Linked DNA regions of Homo sapiens: region 2 is linked to region 1. Evidence: promoter capture Hi-C in 16 types of primary human blood cells and fetal thymus (Javierre and others, 2016). All regions are on one chromosome and are shown on one strand. The core of a region is centred on a gene start or on the middle of the fragment in contact, and the rest is flanking DNA. Distances in the headings are between cores, read along the strand shown. Region 1 holds the start of ZNF792 (zinc finger protein 792). Region 2 holds the start of LOC101927522 (a long non-coding RNA gene).

The links. The method cuts DNA at HindIII sites, captures the fragments that hold promoters and counts their contacts. A CHiCAGO score of 5 or more calls a contact.
Region 2: a fragment that was not itself captured here is called in contact with the fragment with the promoter of ZNF792 in region 1 in 4 of 17 cell types (total B cells, total CD8 T cells, naive CD8 T cells and 1 more); the score reaches 8.3 in total B cells.

What each region holds. Positions count from the first base shown.
Region 1 is chr19:34,960,837-34,967,611 of GRCh38, forward strand. ZNF792 (zinc finger protein 792) reads right to left here and starts at 3,393. Exons shown (of 4, transcript NM_175872.5): 1 at 2,794-3,393; 2 at 32-158. The coding sequence starts at 2,826. It overlaps LOC124904699 (a long non-coding RNA gene), which reads left to right and starts at 2,590. Exons shown (of 2, transcript XR_007067236.1): 1 at 2,590-2,837. RefSeq lists silencers at 2,735-2,784, 2,895-3,154. The HindIII fragment of the contact is 6,406 bases long and covers 2,529-6,775 here.
Region 2 is chr19:35,430,786-35,437,560 of GRCh38, forward strand. LOC101927522 (a long non-coding RNA gene) reads right to left here and starts at 3,868. Exons shown (of 7, transcript NR_187751.1): 1 at 3,535-3,868; 2 at 2,804-3,053; 3 at 2,074-2,317. RefSeq lists enhancers at 2,109-3,308, 5,758-6,721, 6,722-6,775 and a silencer at 5,842-6,136. The HindIII fragment of the contact is 997 bases long and covers 2,255-3,251 here.

The sequences.
Region 1 (6,775 bases), core at 2,143-4,642:
CGGGACACCGGGGTAGGGGTGACAGCCTTACCCAGCGAGGCTATAAGTGCAAAGTTTTCCAGCATCACATCGCAGTACAGGAGTCTCTGAGCCTCATCGAGGAGCACCCACTCCTCCTGGGAGAAGTAAATGGTCACGTCCTCAAAGGTCACGCAGCCCTGCCATGATGGGGACAGTTCGTTCCATGATCAGTCTCTGTCCTTGGGACTCCCTATCCATCCCCTGCTCACTCTCCTCCCCAGCTCCACAGCTCCAGGAGGTAGCAGGCCCTGGTTCTGTGGGCGCCTCATGTGACCACTGTGTCAGCCCGCAGCAGCAACAGGCAGGGTGCAGAGAGGCACCCTCTAAGCTCTGGGCCTGAAGTCCAGGGCCCAGCTCGCTCTTCTGCCAGCCTCTTCCCCTAGTGTCACCAATGTCATGCTTCTCAGATACAAATGTGGGCTTCTCCTTTAAACCCCAGTCCAGAGCCCTGGGGTGAACAGCTCATACTCCCTCCCACGTGCGTTTCACTCTTTGGACTGCACCACCCTCACAGCTCCAGACCTTCACCACGGCCTCCCATTGCCACTGCTACCTTCTCCCCATCCTGGCCCCTATCCTAGCCATCTCCATGGGCTCCCACGAGTCACTCTGCACATGGCATCCAGAGAGTGCCTGGCAAACATAAGCACCATCCCAGCCTGCCCCAGACCTTTGATGGCCTCCACTGCCAAGGGCAACACCCAGGTAAGGGGGAGAGGGAGCGCTCCACCCTTGCCTTGGAGCCCCCTAGCTCCCCTGGCCTGGCTTCAACCTAAGCCACCCACGGCACACATGGATGTCACATACACTTGGCCTTCTTTGTTGCACATTCTGACCCTGTCATCACTCACACTCATTTAAAAAAGAAAAAAAAAGCCAACCCCTCTGGCCATCCTACCCCCACCCACCTAAGCCCAGCAACTCTGCCAACTGACTCCTCTTGCCCCAAGCTAATTCCCCAGCCTGAGGACAAACCCCATCAAGGGTCACCACAGAAGCCTGGTGAGAACATAGGTGAGTGTGTAAGCACCAGCCCAGGCCTCACTGCAATATTACCTCCTCTACTGCTAAGCCTCAGCATCCATCTCATTCATGTCTACACTCTTTGGGATGATCTGGCCACCTGCCAGACCCTCTGATACACCCACATAGCCCCTCCATCACCACCATGACCACTACTGTTCCTCACCTGTCTTTATGATGCCAAACAAGCCACAGTCCCCAAGCAAGAACCCTGCTCTCAGTTTTCCAGCCCCACCTTCCTCTTTTTTTTAACATCATTGTCACCATGACCTGAAGTTTCACCTCCTAAATCTCACACACAGCTACACTCCCGTCCACACACCAGATGTCACATTTTGGATGTTTCTAACTGTTGAAATAAACAAAGACCAATGAAATGAGAAAAGCCAAGGCTACTTACTCAAAGCTCACTATAGCAAGAGAGACTCAATGCAAGCCGGGAGTGGGAGAGTTTTATAGCAAAAGAAAAGGAAGGCTTCAGGCGTGCCCTGGTTGGAGGCTCCTGTTCGTAGGTGGGTGAACTAGAAGTGGGCATCCTATGTGATTGGTTAGGGTGCGTATCTGCCTTTCTCTGGTTGTTCTTAAATCAGAAGCAGGAGCAAAAATGAGGAAAGCTGTCTGTTATTAATCAAACCCTGGCCATTTGGGACTGCTCATTACAGAAGTTATTGTTTTTACTTCCTGGATTGTCAGTCCAGATAGCAATCTGGCTTCCTGTGGGTCTGACAGACAGCAGGCTGGCTTCCTGCTGTATGGGTTGTTTATTGTAGATAAGGGGGTTGGTTTCCTGGGCAGGTTCTGGGGCAGAGTTCTATTTGTATACATGATCTGGCCATTGTTCGAATGAATATCCAGTCTCTCATTACCTTAACAACTCCCTCAGAACACCCGAACTGTGTGTTCAGCGGCCCACTCTTCAACTCCATTTGGGGGTCTCTGGGACATCACAGGCTCAACTTGGCCAAAACCTAACTTCTACTGCTTCCATGGAAAATTCCTCCTAAAACCAACTTCTCAGTTCATAAAGCTGGATTCATCAAACCAAAAACCATGGATTCTTCCCTCCTCTTTCTCACCCTCCACATCGGAAAATTTGGTCAGCTTGACTTAAAAGACATCAAGTTCCCAATCACTTCCTCTACCTCCAGTCCTCACTCTGGTCCGGCCAGCCGCAGCACTGGCCTGGGCTATTCCATTAGGCTACTCCTTGGCATCCCTGCTTGCGGCTCACTCCATATTCAGTTCTCCACTGTGCATCCACAGGGAGCCTGTTAAGACCTGAGTCACAGCATCTTCCTCCTCTGCCCTAAACCTTCCATGGCTCCCAACACCCTCAGAACAGAGGCCCAGCTCTGCCGTTCTGAGCTGTCTTCAGCCCACCTGCTCTCTGGTTCCAGCAGACATAATATTAATAACACTGACCTGGGTGGGGTTCCTTGAACACTCCCAACTCAGTCTCCACACCGTGCCCCACCCCACCCCCAAGCTTTTGCGCACGCTGGTTCCTGTGCCTACAAAGCCCTTTCTCCCTCCATCCCATTACATTTCAGCAACGGAAGCCACTTTATATAAACCCTGCCCTGATTCAGGATCCTAGCTGGGAGCAACTCCCTTCCAGGGTCCCCTGACTCAAAAGCAAGGAAATGGGAAAGGCGAAAAGTCCTAGAACAAAGCCATCTTTTGCGTCTCAACACCGAGAACAGAAGCGTGGGGGGCCGACAGCGAAGGGCCTAACGTCCAAGCACTCACCTGCGCGGGGTCCCGCAGCGCCGCCGCTGCCATCGGAGTCTGTGGTCAGAGCAGGGCCCCACGGTGCGGGAAACCACGGGGCGGGGGTAGGGGGTCTCGCAGGCTGAGGCTACCACCCACCTGGCCGTGCCCCAGACGAGGTGTGACCCCGGGCTGAGGGTCGCACTCCTAGCCTCAGTCTCCCCCGTGCAAAATGCGCAAGGGGCCCGGGGCGCAGGCTCCGGGGGCGCCGAGAGCGCGCAGCTCCGCTGGGTACCCCCGTTGCAAGGGGTCACGGCTGGTGCAAAGGCGCGGAGGGGGTCCCGGCCTCACTGTCCCCCTCGCGGTCCGGGAAAGCCGGCGGGGCAGCTTCACGGGCGTAGCCCCAGCCGCCCCGCCCCCAACTCGGGGTCCCCAGCTCCTGGGGACTCAGCCTCCCCGCCGGGAAATGACCTGCGAGGCTGCAGTGCAGGAAGTTCCGGCCCCCACCGTGGCGGCCGGGAGAGTTGCCCTCTCCCGTACTGTCATTGGCCTGGCGCCAGCCGCTGGTGCACAGGCAGGGCCTGGGGATCGCGAGTTTCTGCCCAGCCTCTCGTCAGGCTGAGGGTCCAGGGCGGGAAGGAGAGCGGATCTCGTCGGGTCTCCACCGCCGCCGCCTGCAGCCCTCGGGCCTTCCCCTTAAAGGGGCCGCTCCCGAGCCTGCAGCCGCCCGCGCTAAACCCCGCCCACCCTCCGAGGTCCAGGAGGAGAGCCCCAGTGCTCTTCCTGCGCGTGTGGGCATCGGCCAGCCGCTTCACCCCTAAGGGACCTAAATTCACACTGGAAAATGGGGATAGTACCCAATGGGCGGGGTCTTTGCGTTGTAATATTAAATGTCGCTCTGATTCAGGGCTTCTCAAACCAGCAACATCAGCATCACCTGGGGACTGGCTGAAAATGCAGGTTCTGGGGCAACAACTTAAATCTAAGGACTCAGAAATTCTGGGGATGGGATTCAGCCTTCTCTACTTTTTGCGGGGGGGGCGGGGGGGATGGGTCTCGTTCTGTTGTCCAGGCTGGAGTGCAGTGGCCTGATCATAGCTCACTGCAGCCTCCATCTCGGGCTCAAGCTATCCTCCTGCCTCAGCCTACCAGGTAGATGGGATACAGGCGTGCACCATCATACACAGCTAATTTTAAAATTTTTTGTAGAGACTGGATCTCCCTGTGATGCCTAGGCTGGTCTCAAACTCCTGAGCTCAAGTGATCCTCTCACCTCGGCCTCCCAAAGTGTTGGGAATTGCAGGAGTGAGCCATGGTGCCAGGCCTCCTTCTCTGTTTTAACAAGCCCTCTGGGGACTCCAATGCTGGCTCCAACTTTACAGCAGGGACTCTCATTGAAATCCAGTAAATAAAATGGGAAAAATAACACTACATTGTTGCAGGAAGTCAGGGACCCCGAACGGAGGGACCTGCTGAAGCCGTGACAGAAGAACATTAATTGTGAAGATTTCATGGACATTTATTAGTTCCCCAAATTAATACTTTTATAATTTCTTATGCCTGTCTTTACTGCAATCTCTGAACATAAATTGTGAAGATTTCATGGACATGTATCGCTTCCCCAATCAATACTCTTGTGATTTCCTATGCCTGACTTTACTTTAATCTCTTAATCCTGTCATCTTCGTAAGCTGAGGATGTATGTCATCTCAGGACCCTGTGATGATTGCGTTAACTGCACAGATTGTTTGTAGGGCATGTGTGTTTGAACAATATGAAATCTGGGCACCTTAAGAACAGGATAACAGCGATTTTCAGGGAACAAGGGAGATAACCTTAAAGTCTGGCTGCCTGTGGGACGGGCAGGACAGAGCCATATTTCTCCTATTACCAAAAACGGGTAAGAGAAATATCGCTGAATTCTTTCCCCAGTAAGGAATATTAATAATTAACAGCCCTGGGAAAATAATGCATTCCCAGGGCAGTGCCTCTAAAATGGCTGCCCTGGGAGTGTCTGCCTTATGCACATGTAGATAGGGATGAAACACACCCTAGTCTCCTGCAGCGCCCCCAGGCTTGCTAGGATTAGGAAATTCCAGCCTGGCGAACTCTAGTCAGACCAGTTCTCTGCTCTTGAACCCTGTTAAGATGTTTATAAATGACAATGCGTGCACAGCAGGACATGGAAGCTCATGAGTGATTCTAGTTTTGCCCTGACCTTGTGATCTCGCCCTGACCTTCTGCCTTGTGATCTTTTGTTGCCCTTAAAGCATGTGATCTCTGTGACCCACACCCTATTCGTACACTCCCTCCCCTTTGAAAATTGCCAATAAAAACTTGCTGGTTTTATGGCTCGGGGGCATCACGGAACCTGCTGACATGTGATGTCTCCCCCAGACACCCAGCTTTAAAATTTATCTCTTTTGTACTCTTTCCCTTTATTTCTCAGACCAGCCGACACTTAGGGAAAATAGAAAAGAACCCACATTGAATTATCGGGGGTGGGTTCCCCCGATACTACATGTCATATGGTGAAACCACCTTTGTAAAAATTATAACTGAGAAAATTATGACAGTGAGAGATCTGACCTAACCAACTCCATCTTGCTTCTAACCTCCAAGCTGTCCTTGTTCGTTCCTGAGCATAGGCCTAACTAACTTTGGGAGAAACTCAGTTTACAGTTTAACTTTGAAGCAAAGATAACAGCCCTTTCCCTCTAGGCCGGGCATGGTGGTTCACCCCTGTAATCCCAGCACTTTGGCAGGCCGAGGCAGGCGGATCACGAGTTCAGGAGATCGAGACCATTCTGGCTAACATGGTGAAACCCTGTCTCTACTAAAAATACAAAAAATTAGCCAGGTGTGGTGGCGGGCACCTGTAGTCCCAGCTACTCAGGAGGCTGAGGCAGGAGAATGGCATGAACCCCGGGAGGTAGAGCTTGCAGTGAGCTGAGATCGCCTCCAGCCCGGGCAACAGAGCGAGACTCCATCTCAAAAACAAAAACAAACAAAAAAACCCAGCCCTTTCCTGAAACAAACCCTCTTCTTGTCTGGGGACCAGACTGCCTTTGTAGGATTAACAAAAGCCACAAGATTAGAGAGTATGGTTTAGGAGTCATGCAGCCAGGGGCCAGGGGTCACAAGATTTTAAACCTTCCCAATTGCTACTGGGGATAACATCACTATTGTAAAACCTAAGATTGGTGCTCGAGATATTTTTCAGACCCAGCACTCGATGGATCAGCTAGTGCCACCCAGATTGATAAACTGGGTCATCTGGTCCTGTGGTCCCCACCCTGGAATTTACTCAGTGCAGTTAGTCAACTTTGACTCCCTGTGATTTCATCTCTAACCCAACTAATCAGCACTCCCCACTACCTGGCCCCCCACCCACCAAATTATCCCTGAAAACCTCTGATCACTGAATTTTCAGGGAGATCAAGTTGAGTAATAACTCTGTTTCTCCCATGGCATGGCTGGCCCTGTGTCAGTTAAAGACTTTGTTTACTGCAATGCCGTGGTCTTTTTGTAGCAGGCAAAAAGAACCCATTGGGTGGTTACAATGGTAGATAACAGGGCCCAGGACAGAATTCCTGCTGGGTGCATAAAAGCTATTGTCATTACCAACACCATCATCACAAGAATCTTACAAACACTGCTGTGGGGCGGCAGGGAAGAGACACCTCTGTGCAGTCTTTTGGATGTTTGTCAAAATATACAATGACTCTAACTCAGCAAGTACCGCCTCAGAGGGAATAGTTATGATTTTTACATGAAAGCACACCATAGTAACATTTGCCTACTTGATTTTATTTTATTATTTTCTTATAGCTGCATTTTTTTGTTTTTCTAAATTTATAAAATAATATATAATTATTGTATGCAACATGATGTTTTGAAATATAGATACATTGTGGAATTGATAGGGACAGGAGGTAGGGAAATTCTGGGCAGAAGAGGCCAGGTCCATCAAGCTGAAAATCTTGATACCACGGCCCAAAGTGAGAACTTACATCCCTGT
Region 2 (6,775 bases), core at 1,503-4,002, 470 kb after region 1:
ACTTAAGATTGTTCTCAAGACACTAGGTCTGCTATCTCCTCAGTCTGCTGGCTCTCTGAAATAATGTCATTTTTCCTTCCCCCAATATCTCGTCTCTTGATTTATTGGCTGTTGTGCAGAGATTGGTATGAGCTTTGGATTCAACTGCAGGAGGACGGTGAAGCCAGAAGAGATAGAGAGAGAGAGAGAAAGAGAAATGAGCAGCTGCTGAATCATGAGGGCTTCCCTAATGGCAGGGAAAGAAGAAAGTTTTGACAGACAGTGGGGCAAGACACTTGCACAAAACAGGAAGCCAGAGGAATCCTTAAAACCCACACATCATACAAAAATAAAGAAAGAAAATAAAACATGATAAAAGAAATGAAACCCATACATCAGATCACTTACTCCTCTGCCTTATACCCTTCAAGAGTTTCCTATGACTTTGGGAATAAAATCCAAATCCTCACCTTGGACAACAGGGCCCTGCACCATGTGTTTTCCCTCCACCCCCTCCACCCCCAGCTGTCACGTCTCTGACCTGGTTTCCCATCACTTCCCTCATGCTCATTCCCACCCCACCCCCCCAGCCACACTGGCCTCCTTTCGGTTTCTCCATCACACCAAGCTTCGTATCGCCTCAGGGCCTTTGCAAAAAATGTCCCATCTGCCCCGAGTGTTCCTCTCCCAGCTCTTCCATGGAGAGCACCTACAGGCCTCGGCTCAAATGTCACCCCTTCAAGGACATTTCCCTGCTGCCCCCAGCACAGATTACCCTATTCTATCATCCAATTCTATTTCCTTCCGAAAGCGTGCCCCACATTACCTCCTATATTACTGTAGAGACTGTACTAGTGTCTCACCCCTCCCCACAACTACAATGTCAATTTCATGAAGGCAAGAACCATGTCTGCCTTTAAAAAAAAAAAAAATCAGGGTCTCACTCTGTCCCACAGGCTAGAGTGCAGTGGCACAATCTAGGCTCACTGCAGCTTTGATCTCCTGGGCTCAAGTGATCCTCTGACCTCAGCTTCCTGAGTAGCTGGAACTAAAGGCATGCACTACCACATCTGGCTAATTTTTGTATTTTTTTGTAGAGATCAGGTGTCACCATGTTACCCAGGCTGGTCTTGAACTCCTGAGCTCAAGCAATCCACCTGCCTTGGTCTCCCACCAAGTGCTGGGATCATAGGCATGAGCCAACACACCCAGCCACAATGCCTGTCTTGTGATGCTCTATCCCCAACCATCCATGGAGAGATGAAAATGCATGATCTGGTTGTTACCTTGCACTCAGCTGCCTAATCCAAGAGACATGCAGGTGACTTTGAGAAGGCTGGGGCTGTCCTGGGCCCACAGAATTCAGACAGAAGACACTGGGGAAAGGAGAGGAGGTGGGACAGGGACCAGACACAGAGCACTGGAAAGGAGAGGATGTGCAGGAGCAAGAGCTGAGCCGGATTTTCCAGACGGCGGCAGACTCTGGGGGGCTGCCTGGACTTGGGGCATTTTTTCTGGGCTGGCCCTGGACTTAGAGAATATTTTTGTGATTTAGCGGCCCCAATTTTTGTGAAATGTCCTCTGCTGACTGAGAGATTAACCTGCTTTGACTGGGCCATGCTAAAAAATGAACAGGAATTTGATATAGTCCAGTGTGGAGGTGGAGAGGGAGGGAGGTGAAGAAAGAACAGAAGGAAGGGGTAAGACACACTGAGGAGCAGATGGAAGTTACCTGAGGGGATCCTCCAAAGAAGAAAGGGTGGGCTATGCAAACAGTGGATGTAAAAAGACGCCTGGAAGAAGTTAGGACTTGGATTTCTAGGAGAGATTAATTCGACTTGTAGGAGCAGGGATTTGGGGAGAGGCAGAGGGCTCTGCTGCCTCTGAAAGAGCTCACCGAGTGCGCTCCCTCTCTCTGACTAAGGACCCCTGTGGATAAGAAAGCTCTCTGCCCTAGAGAAGAAGAGCAGTCAAGGTGCTTACAGGCTCTTTCCCGAAGACTGAAGACCTTTCCCAGGGTGGACTGTGGTGCCCTTCCCTGTGCAGGCACCCTGACCACTGTGTGTTCAGAGAAGAGGGATGTGGCACACACACCTGAGAAGCACTGGGACTCCTGCGAGACCAAGTGGGAGGTTGCCACTCCTGGGGACCATCTGATGGGAAGCAGCGGTGAAGAAAAGGGAATGGCGTCTGGATGTGGATGGAGGCAGGTGCTTCTACTGCTGCCCGGCCAGAGAGGAGCATCCCCAGAGGGTCCGTCCCTAGCCAGGCTGGAAGCTTGTCTCTGCGCATCTGGTCCCCTCTCGAAGCAGTTCTCAAAAGCCGTTGAGACACACTGCTGGGATGTGGCAACACACCAAGAGGCAAGAAATGTAAGTCCATGGTTCCTGGTAATACTGAAAAAACTAGGCTTTGGAAGTTTAAGTAAACAAAGAAATGAGAGGATATAAGGTAAGCTGTTACAACGTCACTGTCAGTTATGAGTATTCTGTTATGCTTTCTTTTGAGCCAGTCTCGCTCTTTTGCCCAGGCTAGAGTACAGTGGCATGATCTCGGCTCACTGCAACCTTTGCCTCCCGGGTTCAAGCGATTCTCCTGCCTCAGCCTCCTGAGTCACTGGGATTACACATGCCCGCCACCACACCCAGCTAAATTTTTTTGTATTTTAGTACAGACAGGGTTTCACCATGTTGCCCAGGGTGGTCTCAAACTCCTGAGCTCAGGCAATCCGCCCACCTCAGCCTCGCAAAGTGCTAGGATTACAGGTGTGGGCCATCATGCCTGGCCCCCATTACACTTTCTAGAGAGAGGAAGAAGTACTAACCTCACAGTGCAGACTGGAGACTGCACAGCACATGCGCAGATGGTCTTGACAGAGGATGCCTCCCTCTGTGCTGGGGAACTCATCCTTGCCCATTCAGTTTCCGTGGCTCAAGCAGGCTGATGTCAGCCCTTGGCGATGCTGTTGGCGTGTGTGACCCACAAATCATTCAGAGGCAGCAGAGCCAGCCTGGAGATCCGGGCTGTGACTTCAGGACAGGAGACCCTCTCTCTGCACAGGTTATTATCCTAAACTGCCAAAGGTCACTGCGTGAAGCAATTTTACTAAGAGCCACCAAACCCCTCTCTTCCCTCCAACCAAGTTCATTCACCCTTCTCAGAAGAGCCCAAGAGACCTCTGTGAGAGTAAGACAGGAGTTGGCGATGGTGCAATTTGCAGAACGCCATGTTTGTTAGCGCCTTGTCTTCATGTGGCCGGAGGGCACTCCTGAAGCTTCAAACTCCTGTAAAAACGCTTCCTGTCCAGGGAGGGTGGTATGGGAAGTCTGAGGTGGCTGGGAGAGGAACTGGCGAAGTAAGGAGTTGGAGCAGGAGTCAGAGAGACATGGGATGGGGAAACTCACAAGCAGACTCCACCCCAGTCAGGGAACCTCACTCACCGTTCCATTAAGGGCTGGAAAAGGAGGCACCGACAGGTGTCTCACAGAAGCGAATGGTAGCTGTTCAGGAGGCTGGACCCAGGAAAAAGGACATAAAATCGGGGAGGTGCCTCACCCTAATTTTTCTCAACTCCAGCAGAACCTTCTTAGAGAGCCTCACTCAATTCCACATTTCTCCTCCTCTCAGACAAGCCCGGCAGCTCCGTCCACGTCCTTTGCTGAATGGAGCCAGCGTGGTCACTTCTGCCCTATCGAGGAAGCTGAAGGCCCTGGCCCATCTCTGACAGCTCAGGGCACAGGAAAGCCTTGCCTCTGCCTAGTCTGCCCTCTGCTTCCCCACCAGCGTCATCTGTGGCCCACGGCTCTTGGCTGGACCTGCACTGAAGGACACAGCTGCTCCGAGCTACACAACAGGGTGGCTGTCCCTCCGCCCTCCATGTGTGGTGGCTGCTGCAGCAGGATACAGCCAGCCTCCTGGCTGCTATCCCACAGTGCTATGGTTGATTGCGTTCTTACACTGGAAGATAAACAGTGCTTGTGTCAAAGAAAATAGAAACAAGGCCGAGCATGGTGGCTCATGCCTGTAATCCCAGCACTTTGGGAGGCGGAGGTGGGCAGATCACTTGAGGTCAGGAGTTTGAGATCAGCCTGTCCAACATGGCGAAACCCCATCTCTACTAAAAATATAAAAATTAGCTGGGTGTGTTGGCATGCGCCTGTAACCCCAGCTACTCGGGAGGCAGAAGCAGAAGAATTGCTTGAAACCGGGAGGCAGAGGTTGTAGTGAGCCAAGATCGCACCACTGCACTCCAGCCTGGGAGTGCTCATATGAGCACTCACTCTACAGAGACCCTGTCTCACAAAAATAAATAAATAAATAAATAAATAAAATAAATAGATAAAAAAAAGAGGTAGAAGCTGGAAAAGTGGTTATCTTAGGAGTGGAAGGTTTGCTGACTGAGAGGGAATAAAAGGGCCTCTAGGGTGCTGAAAATGGCCTGCATCTCAACCTGGGTGGTCATACACAAATGTACAGATATGTTAACATGCATCCAGCTGTATCCCTAAGTTGAGCTCACCTTTTTGTATGTATGTTACCTGTTAATAACACAATTGATAAAAGCCCCCTCTAAAATCCCACATCTTCCTATGGCTACCATAGATATTTTAGGCTTATAATTGGTTTTGCTCCCCATATTTGCTATTCAAGATCTGTATAATTTTGGAACTCTCCCCTTTTTCCTTGCCAACAGGGTCCCAATTTTGTTAGGTTCGGGAAGTGCCCAATTAATACTCATTTGCCCAAACTCTCTTGCGGCTAGGAATTGCCATGAGATACAATGTCAGCCAGTTGGAAATAAGTACACATCTGCTGGGTAGGGCTTCCAGAAAAGCTATCATTTTCCTTTTTCCTTCTTTAGAGACAAGGTCTCGCTGTGTGGCCCAGGCTGGAGTACAGTGGTGCCATCACAGCTCACTGCAGCCTCCCATTCCCAGGCTCAAGCGATCCTCCCACCTCAGCCTCCCAAGTAGCTGGAACTATAAGAGTGCACCACCACACCCAACTAGATTTTTTTTTTATTTTTTGTAGAGATAGGGGGTCTCACTCTGTTGCCCAGGCAGGTCTCGAACCCTTGGCCTCAAGCGATCCTCTTGCCTCGGCCTCTCAAAGTGCTGGAATTACAGGCGTGAGCCACTGCATCTAGAAAAGTTGTCATTTTCCTGCTTGAAAAAGGGATAGATCCATCTCTCATACGTCTTTTGCTCTCTGTCCTCCCTGCCCCCTGTTTTTCTGCTCAGAATGTAGATGCTTCTTAGGACCATGAAGCGAAAGCCAAGATCTGGGGATAGTGAAACAGATAGCCAGAGGACCCCAGGCTGTGGATGGATGAGTGATCCTGAGCAGCAGCCGTGGACATGGGTTCCCTAATTCCTTCATGTCCCATGAGAAAAATAAACCTCTATGTGTTTAAGTCTCTGTTATTTGGGCATATTTGACAGTCCTCAAATGAGATATAAGGGTTTTATCTTCATAAATGGCAAAGACTTCTAGAGACAGAAGGGAAGGCTTCTGGGTGCTAATTCACTGTGGCTTCATATCATCAAGTAGCAAGGGCTCAAGGAAAAAAAAAAGTGGGGGAAGGAATCCCCAAGACATTCCCAAAATTAAGACTACATTCTCCCCTCCCACCTTCTCCTGAGAGCAGTCTTCCCTGCTTCCTATGGAATCTGAATTCTTCTGGCATTGGAAAAGGCTCAGGGAAGATGGCTCAACGTGAAGAGGATCTCAGTTCACGTAAACTTTACCAAGAGCGGGTCTTAGAGTGTTATGTCCACTGCATCACTGTTTCTCAATCTATTTTTAACCACTTCCCACTTCTGATAAACAGAAACTTTACTTTCTGGTTTGCATTAAGAAAACCAGGGCTTTTCTCTCTCTCTTGGAAAATTTCCAAGCATTTTGAAACGTGCTGCCAACTCCCCGGGTGTGACACCCGGGAGTTTCTGATATCCTCCCTGCACTTCCTGAAAATCTGCCGTCTAATTTAAGTTTCCTAAGATTCTGCAAAGCAGACAGAAACCCTGGTGACTCCAGCGATACCACAACTCTTAGGGGAAGATGAGTCATGTATGTGGCAGAAGCAGGTAATGGAGGAAAACAGAGACAAGGTTGGGCTGGGGAAAGGAACACAGAGCAACTAGTTTTGCCCCCCATCTGGTGTGTCTTTTGCAGGATCAGCCAGCACCTGACTGCAAGTTTCCGCCTCCAGACACTCTGCTGCCTCTCCTCCCTGGCTCAGGGTCAGCACTGAAAATCAGCCCAAGGAAACGACCAGCTGCCTTCTGGCCCTTATCAAGGGTGGTGTGAACCCGCGCTAGCTACCCAGGGGTCTGGCCCGGAAGCGGCAGGGGGAGGGCTTTTTAGTCCTGTGTCTAGTCCAGTGGTCACCTCTGCACGGACAGCAGATGGAGAAGGGGGCTCGGGGAAGGAGGAAAAGGTCAGGCAACCTCTCCAGGATTCCTGGAATAAACATTCCTCCTCCCAAGCTCTTCATTCTGTTTCACAATCAAATCCAGAGTCTTATAAGCATTCATGGAAACCATGAAAGCAAACAACTTGGTAAACGGTAGACAGAAACAGTAAATAGAATCTTCCCTCTACTTCCTGTGTATCCAGAATGTTTAGAGACAGGGAGTGGGGACTGACGACAGATTGCAGCATCTGGGATCTGGGGCTATGGCAGGAACGAGGACATGTGGAAGGCTGGGAGTTGCCTGGGTCTTGGGAGTCTGGGGTTGAAGGTTACTCCTTCATGGTTTCAGGGAAAGAGTGAAGACCACTGGCAAGAAGCCTG